4 separate regions of the Homo sapiens genome follow, and regions 2, 3 and 4 are each linked to region 1. The links are contacts of gene promoters, found by promoter capture Hi-C in blood cells and fetal thymus (Javierre and others, 2016). All regions are on one chromosome and are shown on one strand. Each heading gives the region's core, a stretch centred on a gene start or on the middle of the fragment in contact. The rest is flanking DNA. Distances are from core to core; before and after follow the strand shown. Region 1 holds the start of SSTR1 (somatostatin receptor 1). Region 2 overlaps LOC105370456 (a long non-coding RNA gene). Region 3 has its middle 62 kb from the start of LINC00517. Region 4 has its middle 83 kb from the start of LINC00517.

Region 1 (4,193 bases), core at 753-3,252:
GGTGGGCCGGCGGTAGCGGGCCGCCTTGATGGGATGCACCACGGCCACGTAGCGGTCCACGCTGAGCACAGTCAGACAGTAGATGCTGGTGAACATGTTGACCGCGTCCACGCTGAGCACGAGGCGGCAGAGCAGCGCACCGAAGGGCCAGTGGCGCAACAACGTGGAGGTGACTAGGAAGGGCACGCTGAGCATGAGCAGCTCATCAGCAATGGCCAGATTTAGGATGTAGATGTTGGTGGCCGTCTTCATCTTGGCATAGCGCAGGATCACGTAGATGACCATAGAGTTCCCACACAGCCCCACCAGGCACACCACGGAGTAGATGAAAGAGATCAGGATGGCGCTGCCCTGGCCCTCGCTCAAGGTCCCGTTCTGGGACGCATTTCGCCCTGGCTCCTCCATGCCGTCCGCAGCGCCGGCCCCGGGGCCCCTGCTGCCGCCGCCTTCGCCGCAGCTGCCCGGGCTGGGGCTAGGAGAGGAGGAAGGAGAGGAGGCGGTGCCATTGGGGAACATCCCAGCTGAGGGGGGCCAGTGGGGCTGCCAGGGCTGGGGCTTTCTCCTCGCGCACCCGCCGCCTGCGCCCTCCCTCCCCACCCGACCGCTTGCCTGCAGCCCACAGCCGCCCAGCGCCTCCGGGTAGAGCGCAACCGCTGCGGGGAGCGCGGCTCCTACCGGCGCCGGCGGGGCGCACAGCCCAGCGGTTGCCTGGGCTCTGCAGTTTGCAGCTCCGGGGTGCCCGGGCACAGGCGACCGTGGAGAGGAGAGGCCAGGATGTGGGAGCACCGCACGGCACAGCCATTAACTGGCGCGGCTCTGGACTGGTAAATGATTAATAGGCACCACCAGCGCGTCAGCAGCTACGAAAAAAGGGGGTGGGGTGGAGAAAGGGAGGAGAGCACATAGGTGGCTTGTCCCCCCCGCCCCCCATTTTTTTCCTTCCCAGTCCTGCACTCTGCTCAACTTTAGTGGCTCCTTCCGGGGTTCCCTCGCAGCACCATCTGCCTCTTGCTCTCAGAGGAACCAAGAGAGTTCCTCGGCCTTACTGGAGGGCGGGTGGGAACCAAAGGTATAGATTCTGTCTCATTCCACTCCTCTCCTACCCAAAGCAAAGACTCAAACGGATCCATGAACATGGATGTCTGGAGTTCATCTCAGTTTCCCTCCATTGCTGCCCTTTTCTCTGGAGACCCCAGCTTCTCTCCCGTCCCGCAGTCCAGAACCCTAAATTCCCTCTTCCCACCCTCGCTTGCCTTGCAGCTCAGACCCGCCAGGGAAGTTCCGGGCCCTCCTTACCCAAAGTGCGCAACCTCCAGACTGAGACGTAGATGGTCGGTGCAAAGTGCATGTGCGGTCTGTTAGCAGGTTGACGATCTTCGCGCAGACCAACTCCCTTCTTTGCGCCTGGCCCCAGCACAGGTGCCCACGCAATTACTCTTAGAATCGCGGAAACTGGCCCTAAGCTGCGAGCGTTATGAGAAGAAAGGACAACCACCGTGCGTTAGGGGCTTCTGCGCTATAACACAGCAGGCAGCTTAGGCTATTGGGAGTGTTCAGGGACCTGAGTGAACCATTCGCAAATCTCTTAATAAAGCTCGTAGCGCTCAGAGCCCCCCGTGTCTCCCACAGGAATATCGACTGCAGAAACGAGGACGCGCAGCTGGGAGCTCTGGAGGAGCTTGAGACTCCCTCCAGAAACGTGCCAGGCGCGGTGTTGGGAATCCACCTAGGTGTTCACTCGGGAAAGATAAGGCTGCGCCGCTTGGAAGGGCTCCACCCGCGTCCCTGCTGTACTTTGTACCCTGGAGAGTTGGCGGGTTCTGGCAGACGAGAGTTTAAAGGCTTGGGCGGGCGGGGACGCCAGCTCTTCTAAATCCAGGTGAGGAGCTGCCGCCGTGCGATGACCAGACCTGTCACCAACCCCAGGAACGGCAGGGCGACATTCGAGTTTTTCCGGGAAGAGCTAGGATGTCAGCTCTTTCTGAGGCTTGATTTGTGAGCTGGCTCTGGGTCACGTGCCCAAACCATTAGGAGATATCAATGTAGGCAAGCCTGAAGCTCACTGACTTCATTTAAGAATCAAAACGGTTTTCCCGTAAGAAAGAATGTATGTTCCGTTATCAGGATTTTAAACGAACCCTGGGACTTACCACCATTCTTACTCTAGGGTCTCTTTGGCTTTCCAACTGTTCCTGTGGAAGGAAGAATCACACTCCATGCAACTTCCCTGTTCCTTTTCATAAACGTTGCTTTGCTCGGTAAGATCCCTGCAAGCCTTTATTTGAAACTAGCCTGTTCACAGGAAGAGTGACCCGCAGCAGCTTAGTGCTCTGCCTCCTTCAAGCTTTGCTGTCTCCAGTTTTTCCTTAGTTTCTCCTTCTCCTCAACCAGGCTGTGCCCGCTGTACTGTAAGTCTCAGTTTTCCTCCTCTCAGTAGAGTTTACTCCAAGGAGAGGCTAAACTCCTCATGGAGGCTATCTGTACCGGTCCAGAATGAAGAAATGGATGCAGAAATTAAAAACAAAAAAGTATATTTCCTAATGCCCTGTTGCTTTATCCAGGTAATCACTTACATATACTGCATGTGTTTTAGTTCCCAAAACTAATTGTCTTGAACAGGAAAGAATAACTTCTGTAGTGTGTTGATGATAGCAATCAAAGACTAAAATAAATGACAGACTTTCATAGGAATGTGTGCAATTATTAATGAGGAATGTGCTAGGATGGAATTTGAAATTTCATACGGCTGAAACTGTTTTAACCCATTATTTTACCTGAACAAATTGCCTTCTTTAAAGTGGAATGTACAATTGGTGTTTAGTTATATTTATTTTTCCTTTACAAATACAGCACATATGGAGAGAAAATAAATGTTCATTAAGTTAAAAGAAAAGAGAGTGGGTATTGTCCCAGAATCCCAGAAGAGCATTTTACTAGCCAAGCCTCATATAATGCCTTAGATGCCTCTGCCAATCACTGACTAAAGACACCTGACTATCTGTACCTCTGGGAGCTTGGATTTCAACAGTCATTATTTAGATGCCTTGGCTTTGATCATGGTTGCTCTTTGGGAAGTGTGTGATGGGAGTCAGTGAAAAACAGCTCTGTTGTTCAGAATTTCATTAAATTCACTTTCAGCTCATCTTAGGGAAAATTTCTCTCAATTTTGTGGCCTCATATACAAAAGAAGAAAACTTAAGACCTGACGTGAGAATGCTTTTTATTTTTATTTTTTTGAGATGCCACTTTTCACCCACTAGGATGGCTATAAGAACATTTTTAAAAACAAAAAATAAACGTTAGTGAGAATGTGGAGAAATTAGAACACTCATACATTGCTGGTGGGAATAAAAAATGATGCAGCAACTTCAGAAAAAAATTTTGGCAATTGCTTAAAAAGTTTAAAAGTTTAAAAGAATGACCATATGAGCCAGCAATTCCACTTCTATTTACTCCTCAAAATTGAAAACAGGTGTTTAATCAAAAACTTGTGCATGAACATTCATAGCAGCACTATTCATAATAGCCAAAAATTAGAAACAATCCAAATATCCATCAATTGCTGAATTAATAAATTGTGGTATATCCATACAATGGAATAGTATTCAACCATAAAAAGAAATGAAGTACTAATACCTGCTTCAGCGTAGACGAAGCTTGAAAACACTATGCAAAGGGAAAGAAGCCAGACACAAAAGGCCACGTGTGGCATGATTCCATTTATATGACATGCCCAGGGCAGGCAATACATACAGACAAGGTACGTTAGTGGTTGCCAGGGGCTGGGGGCAGAGGGGAAAGAGGAAGGACTGCTTAATGGGTATGAGCTTTCTTTTTTGAGTGGTGAAAATGTTCTGGAATTAGATAGTGGTGATGATTGCATAACATTGTGAATATGCTAAAAATCCCTGAATTGTACACTTCAAAAATGACTAAAATTATAAATTTTATATTATGGGAGTTTTACTTCAATTTTAAAAAGCATGAGAGAAAGACAAAGAGAGGGATTGAGATGGATATAAGCTATGCAGCATTATTAAATCTTTTCAGTTATGTATTTATTTTTAAATTATTATTATTATTATTATTATTATTATTATTATTATTATTTTGAGACAGGGTTTTGCTCTATCACCCAGGCTGGAGTGTAGTGGCACAATCACAGCTCACTGTAGCCTTGATGTCTCAGGCTC
Region 2 (4,224 bases), core at 488-2,987, 200 kb after region 1:
ATCATAGAATATTGACAATTGCTGAATCTGAATGATGGACAGATGAAGGCTAATTATACAATTTGCTTATTTGGTTTATGCTTAAAATTTTCTATTTAAAAAGGTTTAAAAAATAAGTATGCTAACCAGAATACTGTTTGTATACTTTAGATCCTTTTTATCTTTTTGTTGCTGACTGCAGTCATATTTAATGTAAATAAATAAAATTTTTTCCCATAGCTACACAGCTCACCTATTGTGGCCAATGCCAATTCTGGGTGTAAAAGAAAATCCTTGAGGAAGCAGCAGGGTAAATCAACACATATCTAATTATATTTTTCCCTTATTTAAAATCCTTTGGTGTCTTTAAAGAAGTTCAAACTCTTTGAAATGGCATTCATTACTTCTTATAATTTCCCACCTCACCTCACTTATCTTCAGATTTCTCACTCAATATTTGTTCATGTCCTTTAGGATGGGCTTTTTGAACTGCCTTCACCTCAAAGGATTTGCCATGAATGCTTACACCTTCTTTTTTTTTTAATTCTTCTTCTTCTTCTTTTTTATTGAGACAGAGTCTCACTCTTTTCGCCCAGGCTGGAGTCCAATGGCACAATCTTGGCTCACTGCAACCTCCCCCTACCGGGTTTAAGTGATTCTCCTGCCTCAGCCTCCAGAGCAGTTGGGATTAGGGGCACCTGCCACCATACTCGCTAATTTATTTATTTATTTATTTATTTATTTATTTATTTATTTATTTATTTATTTTTTTAGTAGAGACAGGGTTTCACCATGTGGGCCAGGTTGGTCTCCAACTCCTGACCTCAGGTGATCTGCCTGCCTTGGCCTCCCAAAGTGCTGGGATTACAGGTGTGAGCCACCACACTCAGCCACTTATACCTTCTTGACCTTAACATACACTAGTCTCTGCCTGGAAAGACATCCCCATACCCCCAGGTCTTCTGGCTAATTCTCATTTATTCTGAGATGCTACAGAATGTGTATTGTCTTGCCAAGCTTCGCATCTCACATCCATTGCACTTGTCTGTTACTCATCTGCCTTCTTCACTTGACTGTGAGCATCTTGAAGAATGGGACTGTGCTGTTACCTTTTTATTCTCAGCACCAGCCCAATCACTGCAACTTAATAAATGTTAAGATTTTTATTAATCAATGAATAAATGTAGAAAAAATGCTAAAGCCATAAACATATCAAACAGAAAAATGAAGGCATATCATATCTAACAAGATTAGGAAGCATGAGAAAAACTTTTTTCAATGACTTACTTGAATATATTTTAAAAATCTTATAGACCCTAATAAGATCCTGCTTTAGCGAACACAGCAGTAATTGAAACAGACGACGCTCCTGACGTTCATACAGATTACATTCTTTTCGAGGTACACAGACAATTAACAAATATAGAATATAGTGTCAAGTAGTGATAAGCATTATGAAAAAAATAAAGCAAGATCAGGGTTGGCGGGGGATTATGACTACATAAAAAAGCAATTTAAAACTTCTCTAGGGAGGTGACATTTGAGCAGAGACCTGAATGAAGAAATGCATAGAGCCAGTTGACGATCAGGAGGAAAAGCAAAGCAGAAGGAGCCAAAAGTGAAAAGGCCCAGAATCAGGAATTTGGGGTACAAGGAATTCTGGTGCCAAAACTGAACATTCTATCTCCAGAAATATGTATTTTAGGGGGGGGCAGTCTTAAAGGCTTTTCTTTTTCACATTTTTCTATTAAAAGTCAACCACCATTAGCAGCAGTGACAGTTTAAGTAAGAATTAACAAGCTGCAGAGAATGAAACAAGGGTAAGAAGGCGAAGTGGATTGCTGAGCAGGTCCCCAAAAGGGAAGGCCAAAGCGCACTAAGCCTTGCCCATGTCACTGCTGTCCCTACACTGGTTCTGGGTAGAGACAGTGATGTGTTGAGATGACCTATGTAAAGGTGAGATGGGAAGAAGGTGGTATTACTGCCTGCTTCCTCTCCTCCCAATTGCACACACCCTTTCTCTTCCCACTTCATCCAATTAGAAAGCATCCTTTAAACAACATGAGGGACAGTAAAAACAAGGATTGGTAACCTCTGGGATGGTATTAGTCGCTGGAAAGAAAATTGAAAAATCAATTCTGTTTGACTTGGAGCAAATCATCTTGCTATGGCAAGATAGGAAAAATATGGTCTTTAGGAGTCCAAGTGGCTGTTGAGTTCATAGCAGTGACTTTGCCACTGATACCACTTAGCAGTGGCAGTAAGTAACAGGATGTTCAATAATACAGGCTCAGGAGGCTAGGATCACTGATCCTGTGAAGTAAGAAAATGTACAGCTCTTTCAGACACTTGGAAAAATCAACAGAGCCACAAGAGCCAGATAAAGAAGATGACAGCTCTGCCCAACAGCAGAGACATAGGAACATTAGCCAGGAAAATGCATCACAGAAGAAAAGTGGCTTCCTGTGAATGCAGGTGCAATGATCAAATTAAGCTTCCTACTTTATGTGTTAAGAGAAACATAGCTCAGCATCTAGAGTCCCACCACATACAAAGCATCTGAGAATGCCCAAAGTGTGTTCTAACTTATTTCATTTCATCCTTACAAGCAGTTACTCAGGTTGTCACTCATACTTTGCAGATAAGGAAACTGAGGCTCAAAGTCATATTAACAAGTGGTGCAGCAAAAGCAGACACCTTGGTCCTCTGGTTTCCAGTCTCAGGTGGCCCTCACCCAGGATGTGATTCCAGCAGGTGGAGAACTCTCCACCTTCTCAGTTCCTCTCTCTTCTAAACAGCTCACCCTCAGCCTTGTTTCTTTCATCCTCTTCTGCTTTATAAGTACCCTAGCAGCAGGGGGTTTGATGAGCTTGGGCAGTAGGATTAGACCGTCTGGGTTTAAATCCTAGTGCTACAAATTACTAACCGTGTGACATTAACCAAATTGTTTAACCCTGCTGTCTTTCTGCTTCCTCTTCTGTAAAATGAGAATTATAATAGTACCTCATAGTGCTTAAAGCAGTGCCTGTCCCATAGGAGAGCCCAGTAAAGTTTGCTATTGAAATTATATTCCTTTCCCCATCACACTTCACAAACCCTTGTTGACTGTCCCCTCTGCTTGCCAGTTCCTCCTTTTCCTGCTTACTTTTTCTGCCCCAACCTTTTCCTCCAACACCCCACCCCACCCCACTCACACACACGCACACCTTGCCCTCAGAAACAACTTGCTCTCTTTTTTCTCCCTTTCCATGACTTCTGTGTTCTGCCTGCCAGCTATACCTGCTTGCACAGCCTCCACTATCAGTCTCTAGGATGGGCCCAGCATTCCTGCACCTGCCCCTGCTGCCCTTGAAGCTGTGTGGACTGGTTGAGGCCCTGAAACTTCTTGGGGACAGATAGTTCAAAAACACATTCTGTGAAACTGCTCCAGAATGGAGAGCAGAAGGGCTTTGCTGAAAGATTGCAGAAATCAGAGAACACGGAGATTTATAGCAGGTGCTGCTTTCTTAGAGGCCGAGGACCCGGGAATGCCTCAGGAATAACAATGAGCTCTCTCCTAAGCTCCTATCCTTACACGATTGCTTGGATGCAGGTGAAATCTATGCCAGCTGGTGTTTCAGGCTAATTAAAAGCATGTTCACCTGCCTTATCCATATATACTCTGCCCCTTCCTACTAACCCAGGCCAGAAAAATAGTTTTCCCTTGAATCAGTCCTCTCTTCATCAGAATAGATCTCCATGCCCCATCCCCACCCCCGCCCCCCACCACACACACACACATACTCTTCCCTGACTGTCTTCAGGGCCCAGACATTCTGTATAGAAGAACCATGCCACTGATGACCCAGATTGTGGAAGGTGACGAGTCAGTCATACCCAAATTGACTTTGAAAATGCCTTGATTCAACTAACTATCTAAGAAAATAACCCAATTCTTTTCTAAAAGATAAAACATCTAAAAAGTAAAACTATCTCACATTTCTCTCTCTCTCTCTGTATATATATATACACACATATATATACACACACGTGTATGTGTTTGTGTGTGTGTGCGTGTGTGTGTAGTATGAAGACTTTTAAAGTACAAGTCCTTGAAATTTACTCAGCTCCCTTTGCATCTTACAGCATGGATTATTGCAAAAATCAAGATGCAGACAAAATGGCAAATCTGAGAAGAGATGGACAGGCAAAATGGAGCACAACGGAGTCACTACTGCTACGTCAGTGTGGAGTCGCACCTTGAGC
Region 3 (3,744 bases), core at 829-3,328, 240 kb after region 1:
AAAAATTGAGGAGGAAGGAATTCTCCCTCACCCATTTTATAAGGCCAGCATCATCCTGATACCAAAACCTGGCAGAGATACAAAAAAAAAAAAGAAAAAAAGAAAAGAAAAGAAAACTTCAGGCCAATATCTTTGATGAACATCGATACAAACATCCTGAACAAAATAGTGGCAAATCAAATCCAGCAGCATATCAGAAAGTTTATCCACCATGATCAAGTAGGCTTTATCCGTGGGATGCAAGGTTGGTTCAACATATACAAATTAATAAATGTGATTCATCACATAAACAGAACTAGAGACAAAAACCACATGACTATCTTAATAGATACAGAAAAGGCTTTCAACAAATTACAACATCCACTCATGTTAAAAAAATCTCAATAAACTAGGTATTGAAGGAACATACCTCAAAATAATAAGAGCCACCTATAACAAACCCAAAGCCAACATCATACTGAATGGGCAAAAACTAGAAGCATCCCCCTTGAAAACTGGCACAGGACAAGGATGCCCTTTCTCATCACTCCTATTCAACTTAGTATTGGAAGTTCTGGCCAGGGCAATCAGGCAAGAGAAAAAAATAAAGAGTACTTAAATAAGAACAGAGGAAATCAAATTATCTTTGTTAGTACATGACATGATTCTATATCTAGAAAACCCCACAGTCTGAGCCTAAAAGCTTCTTATAAGCTGACAAACAACTTCATCAAGCCTCAGGACACAAAAGCAATGTGCAAAATTCACCAGCATTCTTATAAAACAACAATAGTTAAGCTAAGAGCCAAATCAAGAACAAACTCCCATTTACAATTGCCAAAAATAGAATTACATACCCAGAAATTCAGCTAACTATGGAGGTGAAAGATCTCTACAAGGAGAACTACAAACCACTGATCAAAGAAATCAGAGATTTTGATCAACAAACAAATGAAAAAACATTCCATGCTCATGGATAGGAAGAATCACTACCATTAAAATCACCATACTGCCCAAAGCAGTATGGCTTTTTATAGATTGAAGGCTATTCCTATTAAACTCACATTTACATTCTTCACAGAACTAGAAAAAAACTATTTTAAAATTCATATAGAATGAAAAGAGCCCAAATAGCCAAGGAAATCCTAAGGAAAAAAAAAAAAAAGGCTGGAGGCATCATGCTACCTAACTTCAAACTATACTACAGGGCTACAGTAACAAAAACAGCATGGTACTGGTAAAAAACAGACACATAGACCAATGGAACCAAATAGAAAACCCAGAAGTAAGACTACACACCTACAACTATCTGATCCTTGACAAACCTGACAAAAACAAGCAATGGGGAAAAGATTTCCTATTCATAAATGGTACTGGATAACTGGCTAGCCATGTGCAGATGATTAAAACTGGACTCTTTCCTTACATCACATACAGAAGTTAACTCAAGATGTATTAAAGACTTAAATGTAAAGCCAAAAACTATAAAAACCCTGGAAGACAACCTAGGCAATACCATTCAGGACATATGTACAGGCAAAAGTTTCATGACTAAGATGCCAAAAGCAATTGCATCAAAAGCAAAAATTGACAAATGGGATCTAATTAAACTAAAGAGCTTCTGCACAGCAAAAGAAACTATCAACAGAGTAAACAGACAACCTACAGAATGGGAGAAAATTTTTGCAAACTATGCATCCAACAAAAGTTTAATATCCAGCATCTATAAGGAACTTCAACAAATTTACAAGAAAAAACAACTCCATCAAAAAGTGGGCAAAAGACATGAATAGACACTTTTCAAAAGGAGACATACAGGAGGCCAACAACCATATGAAAAAAAGCTCAATATCACTAACCATTAGAGAAATGTAAATCAAAACCACAAGAGATACCATCTCACACCAGTCAGAATGGCTATTATTAAAAAGTCAAAAAATAACAGATGCTGGAGAGGTTGTGGAGAAAAAGAAATGCATATACACTGTTGGTAATGCAAATTAGTTCAACCACTGTGGAAGACAGTTCAGTGATTCCTCAAAGACCAAATGGCAGAAATACCATTTGACCCAGCAATCCCATTACTGGGTATATATCCAAAGGAATATAAATTGTTCTGTTTTAAAGACATATATACATGTATGTTCATTACAACACTATTCACAATAGCAAAGACATGGAATCAATCTAAATGCTCATCAATGACAGACTGGATAAAGAAAATAAGGTACATATATACTATGGAATACTATGTAGCCATAAAAAAGATTGAGATCATATCCTTTGCAGCGACATGTATGGAGCTGGAAGCCATTACCCTTAGGAAACTAACACAGGAACAGAAACCAAATACCACACATTCTCACTTATAAATGAGAGCTAAATGATGAGCACACATGGACACATAGAGGGGAAAAACACACACTGGGGCTTATCAGAAGGTGGATGGTAGGAGGATGGAGAGGTTCAGAAAAATTAACTAATGGCTACTAGGCTTAATACTTGAGTGAGGAAATAATCTGTACAACAACAAACCCACAAGTTTACCTATACAACAAACCTGCACATGTGCCCCTGAGCTTAGAGTTGAAAACATATGTTTTGAAAAGATAATTTAATTACATGGCCTAATTTTATGTGCTGGGTATGGTAGCTCCCAGATGTAATCCTAGAGCTTTAGGAGGTTAGGTGGAAGGATCACTTGAGCTAAGGAGTTCAAGATTACTCCAGCCTGGGTGAGAGAGCGAGACCTTGTCTAAAAGAAAAAAAAAAAGCAAGAAAGAAAATAAAAGATGAGAAAAGAAAATTAAAAAAAAAAGACAGATGGAAACAGTATGCCCCAAATGACCTAGATATTGTGGGAAAATCAAAGAAAAAGACACATTCACATGAAGATACATGGATAATAGAATGAATAAAAATGTACCAAAGTCTTAATAGTAGTTATCTTTGGGTAGTGATTTTATAGGTGGTGCTCATTTTCTTTTACATATTTTTCTGAGTATCCTACATTTCCTAAAATGAGATTATGTTATTTTCTACTTTAAAACATGATCTAACCATCACAACTTAACAAAGTATAGATTTTAGAGAAAAGTACACAAAATACAATTTGGCTAAGCATAAAAAATGATTAAATTGAGACACATGATGTTTTCCTAAAATAATTTAGAGTGTTTATTTTGTCGGCTTATTCAAAATTGAAACCTCAAAAAGAAATGTAGGATTCTTGATTCCTCGGTACTTTGATGAACTTGAAGATGTGGTTTGAAATCACTATCTTCTTAAAAATGGATAGATATCGACCATCTGTTGCCTGTTTAGAAACAAATGTACCATTACCAGGAGAATTTTCTAAGAAAATAGGTGGAGTTTCATGCTTTCTTTTAAGATCCCGGAAGCCCTGCTCTTGGTTTGATTTAATTTAGGACAAAATAGGGTCTTCCATTTTGCTTCAATATGAGTTATATGGACCACTTGTTTCCGAAAGCTTTGGAGGGTGGGGAGGAGAGGTAAGGAGAGAGGAAAGGAAGGAGAGAATAAAATAAAGAAGGAAAGAAGAGTGCTTTTTGTTTGGGATGGGACAGTTATGTCAAATACAATTGCACACCCACACCAGCTTTGATAACTTGGTAATGACTGTTTTTGCTGAGAAGAATTCTGAGGTTGCATCTGATGTAGCTGGAAAGTATGGTATTATCAATGAATGATGTCTGTGTAAGTGTGCAAGGGAAGGTACTTGTCATATCTGAAGTCTGGGATAGG
Region 4 (4,185 bases), core at 156-2,655, 220 kb after region 1:
ATGCAGAACACATGGATATGAAGGGCTGACTGTATTTATTTATTTATTTATTTATTTATTTATTTATTTATTTATTTTGAGATGGAGTCGCTCTGTCGCCCAAGCTGGAGTGCAGTAGCGCGATCTCAGCTCACTGCAACCTCCACCTCCCGGGTTCAAGTGATTCTCCTGCCTCAGAGGCCTCCCAAGTAGCTGGGACTACAGGTGCCTGCCACCATGCCTGGCTAATATTTTATATTTTTAGTAGAGACAGGGTTTCACCGTATTAGCCAGGATGGAGGGCTGACTGTATTTCTAATTGCTTCTTTCGATCAGCATAGAAGCAATTACTTTTATAGCACTTACATGCCAGGCAGTGTCCTTCGTGCATTAATTTTTTATATATTCTTCAGAGCTGTCGATTTAGAGGTACTAATATTAGGCTACTAAGGCTTCATTCACTTGTTAGAACATTTTCCCCTCAGCAAGTATGTCAAGCAAAGTACTTCAAAGAATATAGAGTCAATAAAATTCCACAAAGCAAATCTGTGTAGTAGGATGATGAGAGAAAGAGTACATGAAGCAGTCAGCCTGGTGATCATTTGTAGCTAGTTAAGAGACCACAGCTGAAAAACAGACCTTTCTTTTATCACCAAATTGCATGATGTCTAAGTGGTCACTGTAACTCAGATCCAATCTGACATAATGACATTAGGCTGAACTCACACATGCTCTATCAGTTCAGAGGAACTGTTTCTCATCTATTCTTCCCTCTGCCCTCTGGGGAAAAGGCATACAGGAAATATTGTGTTGGCAACTAAAAAAAATGCTCTGTTTTTCTAAAGATTGAAGGTATTAATTTAGCCAATGCATGGTTAGCATCTAGCTGGTCATGTGTATTATTGAGAATGTGAGTGACTTCAAAAGCGAAAAAAGGATAAACTGTCACAAGTTCAGTGCCCCCTGGTGGAGCATGATGGGAAGCACCTTTTCCTTCTGTCCCTAAAAAGTGCCTAAGACCATGCAAGGTGTATTTTAAATGTTCATTTCTCCACTGGCTTCATCTTGCCTTTCCTATTTTCTACTTTCCTTTGGCAAAATTTTTTAAACTTTTTTTTTGAGACAGGGTCTCACTCTGTCTCCCAGGCTTGAATGCAGAGGCGTGATCACAGTTGACTGAATCCTCAACCTCCTGGGCTCAAGTGAGCCTCCCACTTCAGCCTCCCAAGTAGATGGGACTACAGGCATGCACCACCACACCTGGCTAATTTTTTTTAATTTTTATTTTTGTAGAGATGAGGTCTCACTCCGTTGCCCAGTCTAGTCTCAAACTCCTGGGCTCAAAAGATTCTCCTGCTTCGGCCTCCCAAAGTGCTGGGATTACAGGCATGAGCCACCATGCCCGGCCTACCTTTTCATGTTTACAGTTATTTTATCTTTTTGAATTTTTGTAAACAAACTTAATTCTTTCTGGACTAGCAAAATATTACTAATAAACAAGGCTAATAGCCTGTGGGGTGCCAGCTCTGCCACCTAGATTGTGTATGGCTAGCATCCATTCTCTTGGTTCTGAATTAGTCAGTGCCTGGGTCATACCAGTAGTTAAATGTTATTCATATTTTCCCTTAATATGAATATACATATGTATGTATGCTTGCACATCAAGCCAACCTGTGCTTTTAAAATTCTTTGTTCCTTAAAATTCTCAAAGACTAAAGAATGCAAAAGAAATCATCCCAAAATTGAAAATATATATCCTAGATATATTCAAACAAATATATCATACATAGTACCCACTTTTAATGGCCTGTAACTAACAGCTGTGATTTTAGGTCCTCAACAAAGGAATGAAGACTATTAAGGGCAGTGTCACTTCCAAAACCTCTACAGTCACACAAAGTCAGAGTTGCTCGAAAGACGAAGACTGCATCTCTGAGAATGACTGTGCCTCATGACAACCTCAGGCCCAGGCACACTCAGAATTTGTAGATGGAATTTTCCCACATCTTTAAAAAGAATTCAAGGCCAGGAGCAGTGTCTCACACCTGTAATCCCAGCACTTTGGGAGGCCGAGGCAGGTGGATCACCTGAGGTCAGGAGTTCAAGCCCAGCCTGGCCAACATGGTGAAACCCCATCTCTGTTAAAAATACAAAAATTACCCAGGCGTGGTGGCATGTGCCTGTAATGCCAACTACTCAGGAGGCTGAGCCAGGAGAATTGCTTGAACCTGGGAGGCAGAGATTGCAGTGAGCTGAGATCTCACCACGGCAATCTAGCCTGGGCAACAGAGCGAGACTCTGTCTCAATAACTAACTAACTAAATAAATAAATAAATAAATTCAGCTTTATTGAAGTACAACTGACAAATAGAAATTGTGTATATTCAAGGTGGACAACATGATGTTTTGATATACATATAACTTATGAAATGATTTCGACAATCAAACTAATTAACATACCATCACCTCACATGGTTACCTTTATTTTTTGTGGTGAGAATACTTAAGATCTACTCTCTAGATCTACTCTCTTAGTATGTTTCAGGTATGCAATACAATATTATTAAATATGGTCACTCTACTGTATATTTATTGATCTTAGTTGATCTATATTTATTGGTCTATAATTTATTGATCTTGCAACTAGAAGTTTATACCATTTGACCCATATCTCCCTATTTCCCCACCCCTCAACCCTGAGTAACCACCATTCTACTCTGTTTCCATGAGTTGGCTTTTTTTAGATTCCAAATATCAGTGAGATTATGCAGTATTTGTCTTTCTGTGCCTGGCTTCTTCCACTTAGTATAACATCCTTCAGGTTTATCCATGTTGTCACAAATAGCAGAATTTCTTTATTTTTTTAGGCTGAACATCATTCCAGGGTTTATGATGTGTATAGTCGTGTGTGTGTGTGTGTGTGTGTGTGTGTGTGTGTGTGTGTGTTGCATTTTCTTTATCCACTCATCATCCATATCTTGGTTACTATAAATAATGCTTCAGTGAACATGAAAGTGCAGATAGATAGAAAGTTCTTTGACATACTGATTTCATTTCCTTTGATAGATACTCAGAAGTGGGATTGCTGAATCATATGTTAGTTCTATTTCTAATTTTTTAAGGAGATTTCATAGTGTTTTCCTTAGTGAATGTAACAATTAATATTCCCAGCAACAATGTATTCTTTTTCTCTACACCCTCACTAGCACTTTTTTGGCTTTTGGATAATAGCCATCCTAGCAGGTATAGGTAGTTCATTGTGGTTTTGATTTGTATTTTCCTGATGGTTAGTGATGTGAAGCACCTTTTCATATACTGTTGGTTATTTGTATGTCTTCACTGGGAAAATGTTCATTTAGGTCCTTTGCCCATTTTTAAAATCCAGTTATTTGTTTTTTTACTATTGAACTCACTAGTATGAACTCCTTATATGTTTTGAATTTAAATCCTCATCAGATATATGGTTTCAAACATTTTCCCATTCTGTGAGTTGCTTTTTCACTTTGTTGATTGTTTCCTTTGATCTTCTTGCTTGATTATACTTAAAGAGTTGTAACACTGTACAGTCAGGGTTGATTTGCAGAAGACAGAAACCACTTTCAGAAGAACATTCTTTAAAACCATATTTGAATGCTTACAATATCACTGGTAGAGTTAGAGGAGTAGGTCTAGGTTGGGTTTAGAATGATTCTCATAAAACCACTTCAGAACTGACCTTCAAGGGGAATTGTTTCCCTTGATACAATCAAGAAGCAGGGCAATTAGGAAGCTGCCACTGGAAATTTGACTTTAGGAACCAACTTAGCTACACTCTAAGCCCTACTTCTCAATGGCTATAAAACTAGTAATTAGTCGTAAGAATTCTACCTAAGAAAACTTAGTGCTTCCTAAGCACTTTATTTTCCAAAAGTATAGAAAAAATATTGAAATGTGGCCTCTAATTTCATGCAAGTGCATTTGATTGGTCTAATCTAATCATAGCTGGAACCTTAAATCAAGAGAGTCAAGGAAATGAAAATTTTAGCATTCTAATATATTTTACCAGGCAGGAATGCATATTAGAAGAGCATTTTTCAACTCCTACATTGCAAATTACTTGAATTTCATAAAATCAATTTATTTAATGAGCCATGAAATCAATTGATTTTTAAGGAAATAGAATAGAATGGATCATTGTATCCTACATAGCAAAGGAGGATTGTTTTG

What was found. The method cuts DNA at HindIII sites, captures the fragments that hold promoters and counts their contacts. A CHiCAGO score of 5 or more calls a contact.
Region 2: a contact is called between a fragment that was not itself captured here and the fragment with the promoter of SSTR1 in region 1, in 4 of 17 cell types (neutrophils, naive CD8 T cells, total CD8 T cells and 1 more). The highest score is 7.6, in neutrophils.
Region 3: a fragment that was not itself captured here is called in contact with the fragment with the promoter of SSTR1 in region 1 in 5 of 17 cell types (naive CD8 T cells, neutrophils, total CD4 T cells and 2 more); the score reaches 8.9 in naive CD8 T cells.
Region 4: a fragment that was not itself captured here is called in contact with the fragment with the promoter of SSTR1 in region 1 in 7 of 17 cell types (neutrophils, naive CD4 T cells, naive CD8 T cells and 4 more); the score reaches 16.4 in neutrophils.

What each region holds. Positions count from the first base shown.
Region 1 is chr14:38,205,713-38,209,905 of GRCh38, reverse strand. SSTR1 (somatostatin receptor 1) reads right to left here and starts at 2,002. Exons shown (of 3, transcript NM_001049.3): 1 at 1,802-2,002; 2 at 1,297-1,463; 3 at 1-860. The coding sequence starts at 516. It overlaps LOC124903303 (a long non-coding RNA gene), which reads left to right and starts at 619. Exons shown (of 2, transcript XR_007064117.1): 1 at 619-824; 2 at 1,630-2,691. RefSeq lists enhancers at 1-555, 1,539-2,200. The HindIII fragment of the contact is 9,392 bases long and covers 1-2,346 here.
Region 2 is chr14:38,003,249-38,007,472 of GRCh38, reverse strand. It overlaps LOC105370456 (a long non-coding RNA gene), which reads left to right. Exons shown (of 4, transcript XR_943761.4): 4 at 4,105-4,224. Among named protein-coding and RNA genes, the nearest start is that of LINC00517, 100 kb to the right of the region's middle. RefSeq lists an enhancer at 2,511-3,047. The HindIII fragment of the contact is 1,477 bases long and covers 999-2,475 here.
Region 3 is chr14:37,962,732-37,966,475 of GRCh38, reverse strand. No RefSeq gene overlaps it. Among named protein-coding and RNA genes, the nearest start is that of LINC00517, 62 kb to the right of the region's middle. The HindIII fragment of the contact is 2,787 bases long and covers 685-3,471 here.
Region 4 is chr14:37,982,808-37,986,992 of GRCh38, reverse strand. No RefSeq gene overlaps it. Among named protein-coding and RNA genes, the nearest start is that of LINC00517, 83 kb to the right of the region's middle. The HindIII fragment of the contact is 5,574 bases long and covers 1-4,185 here.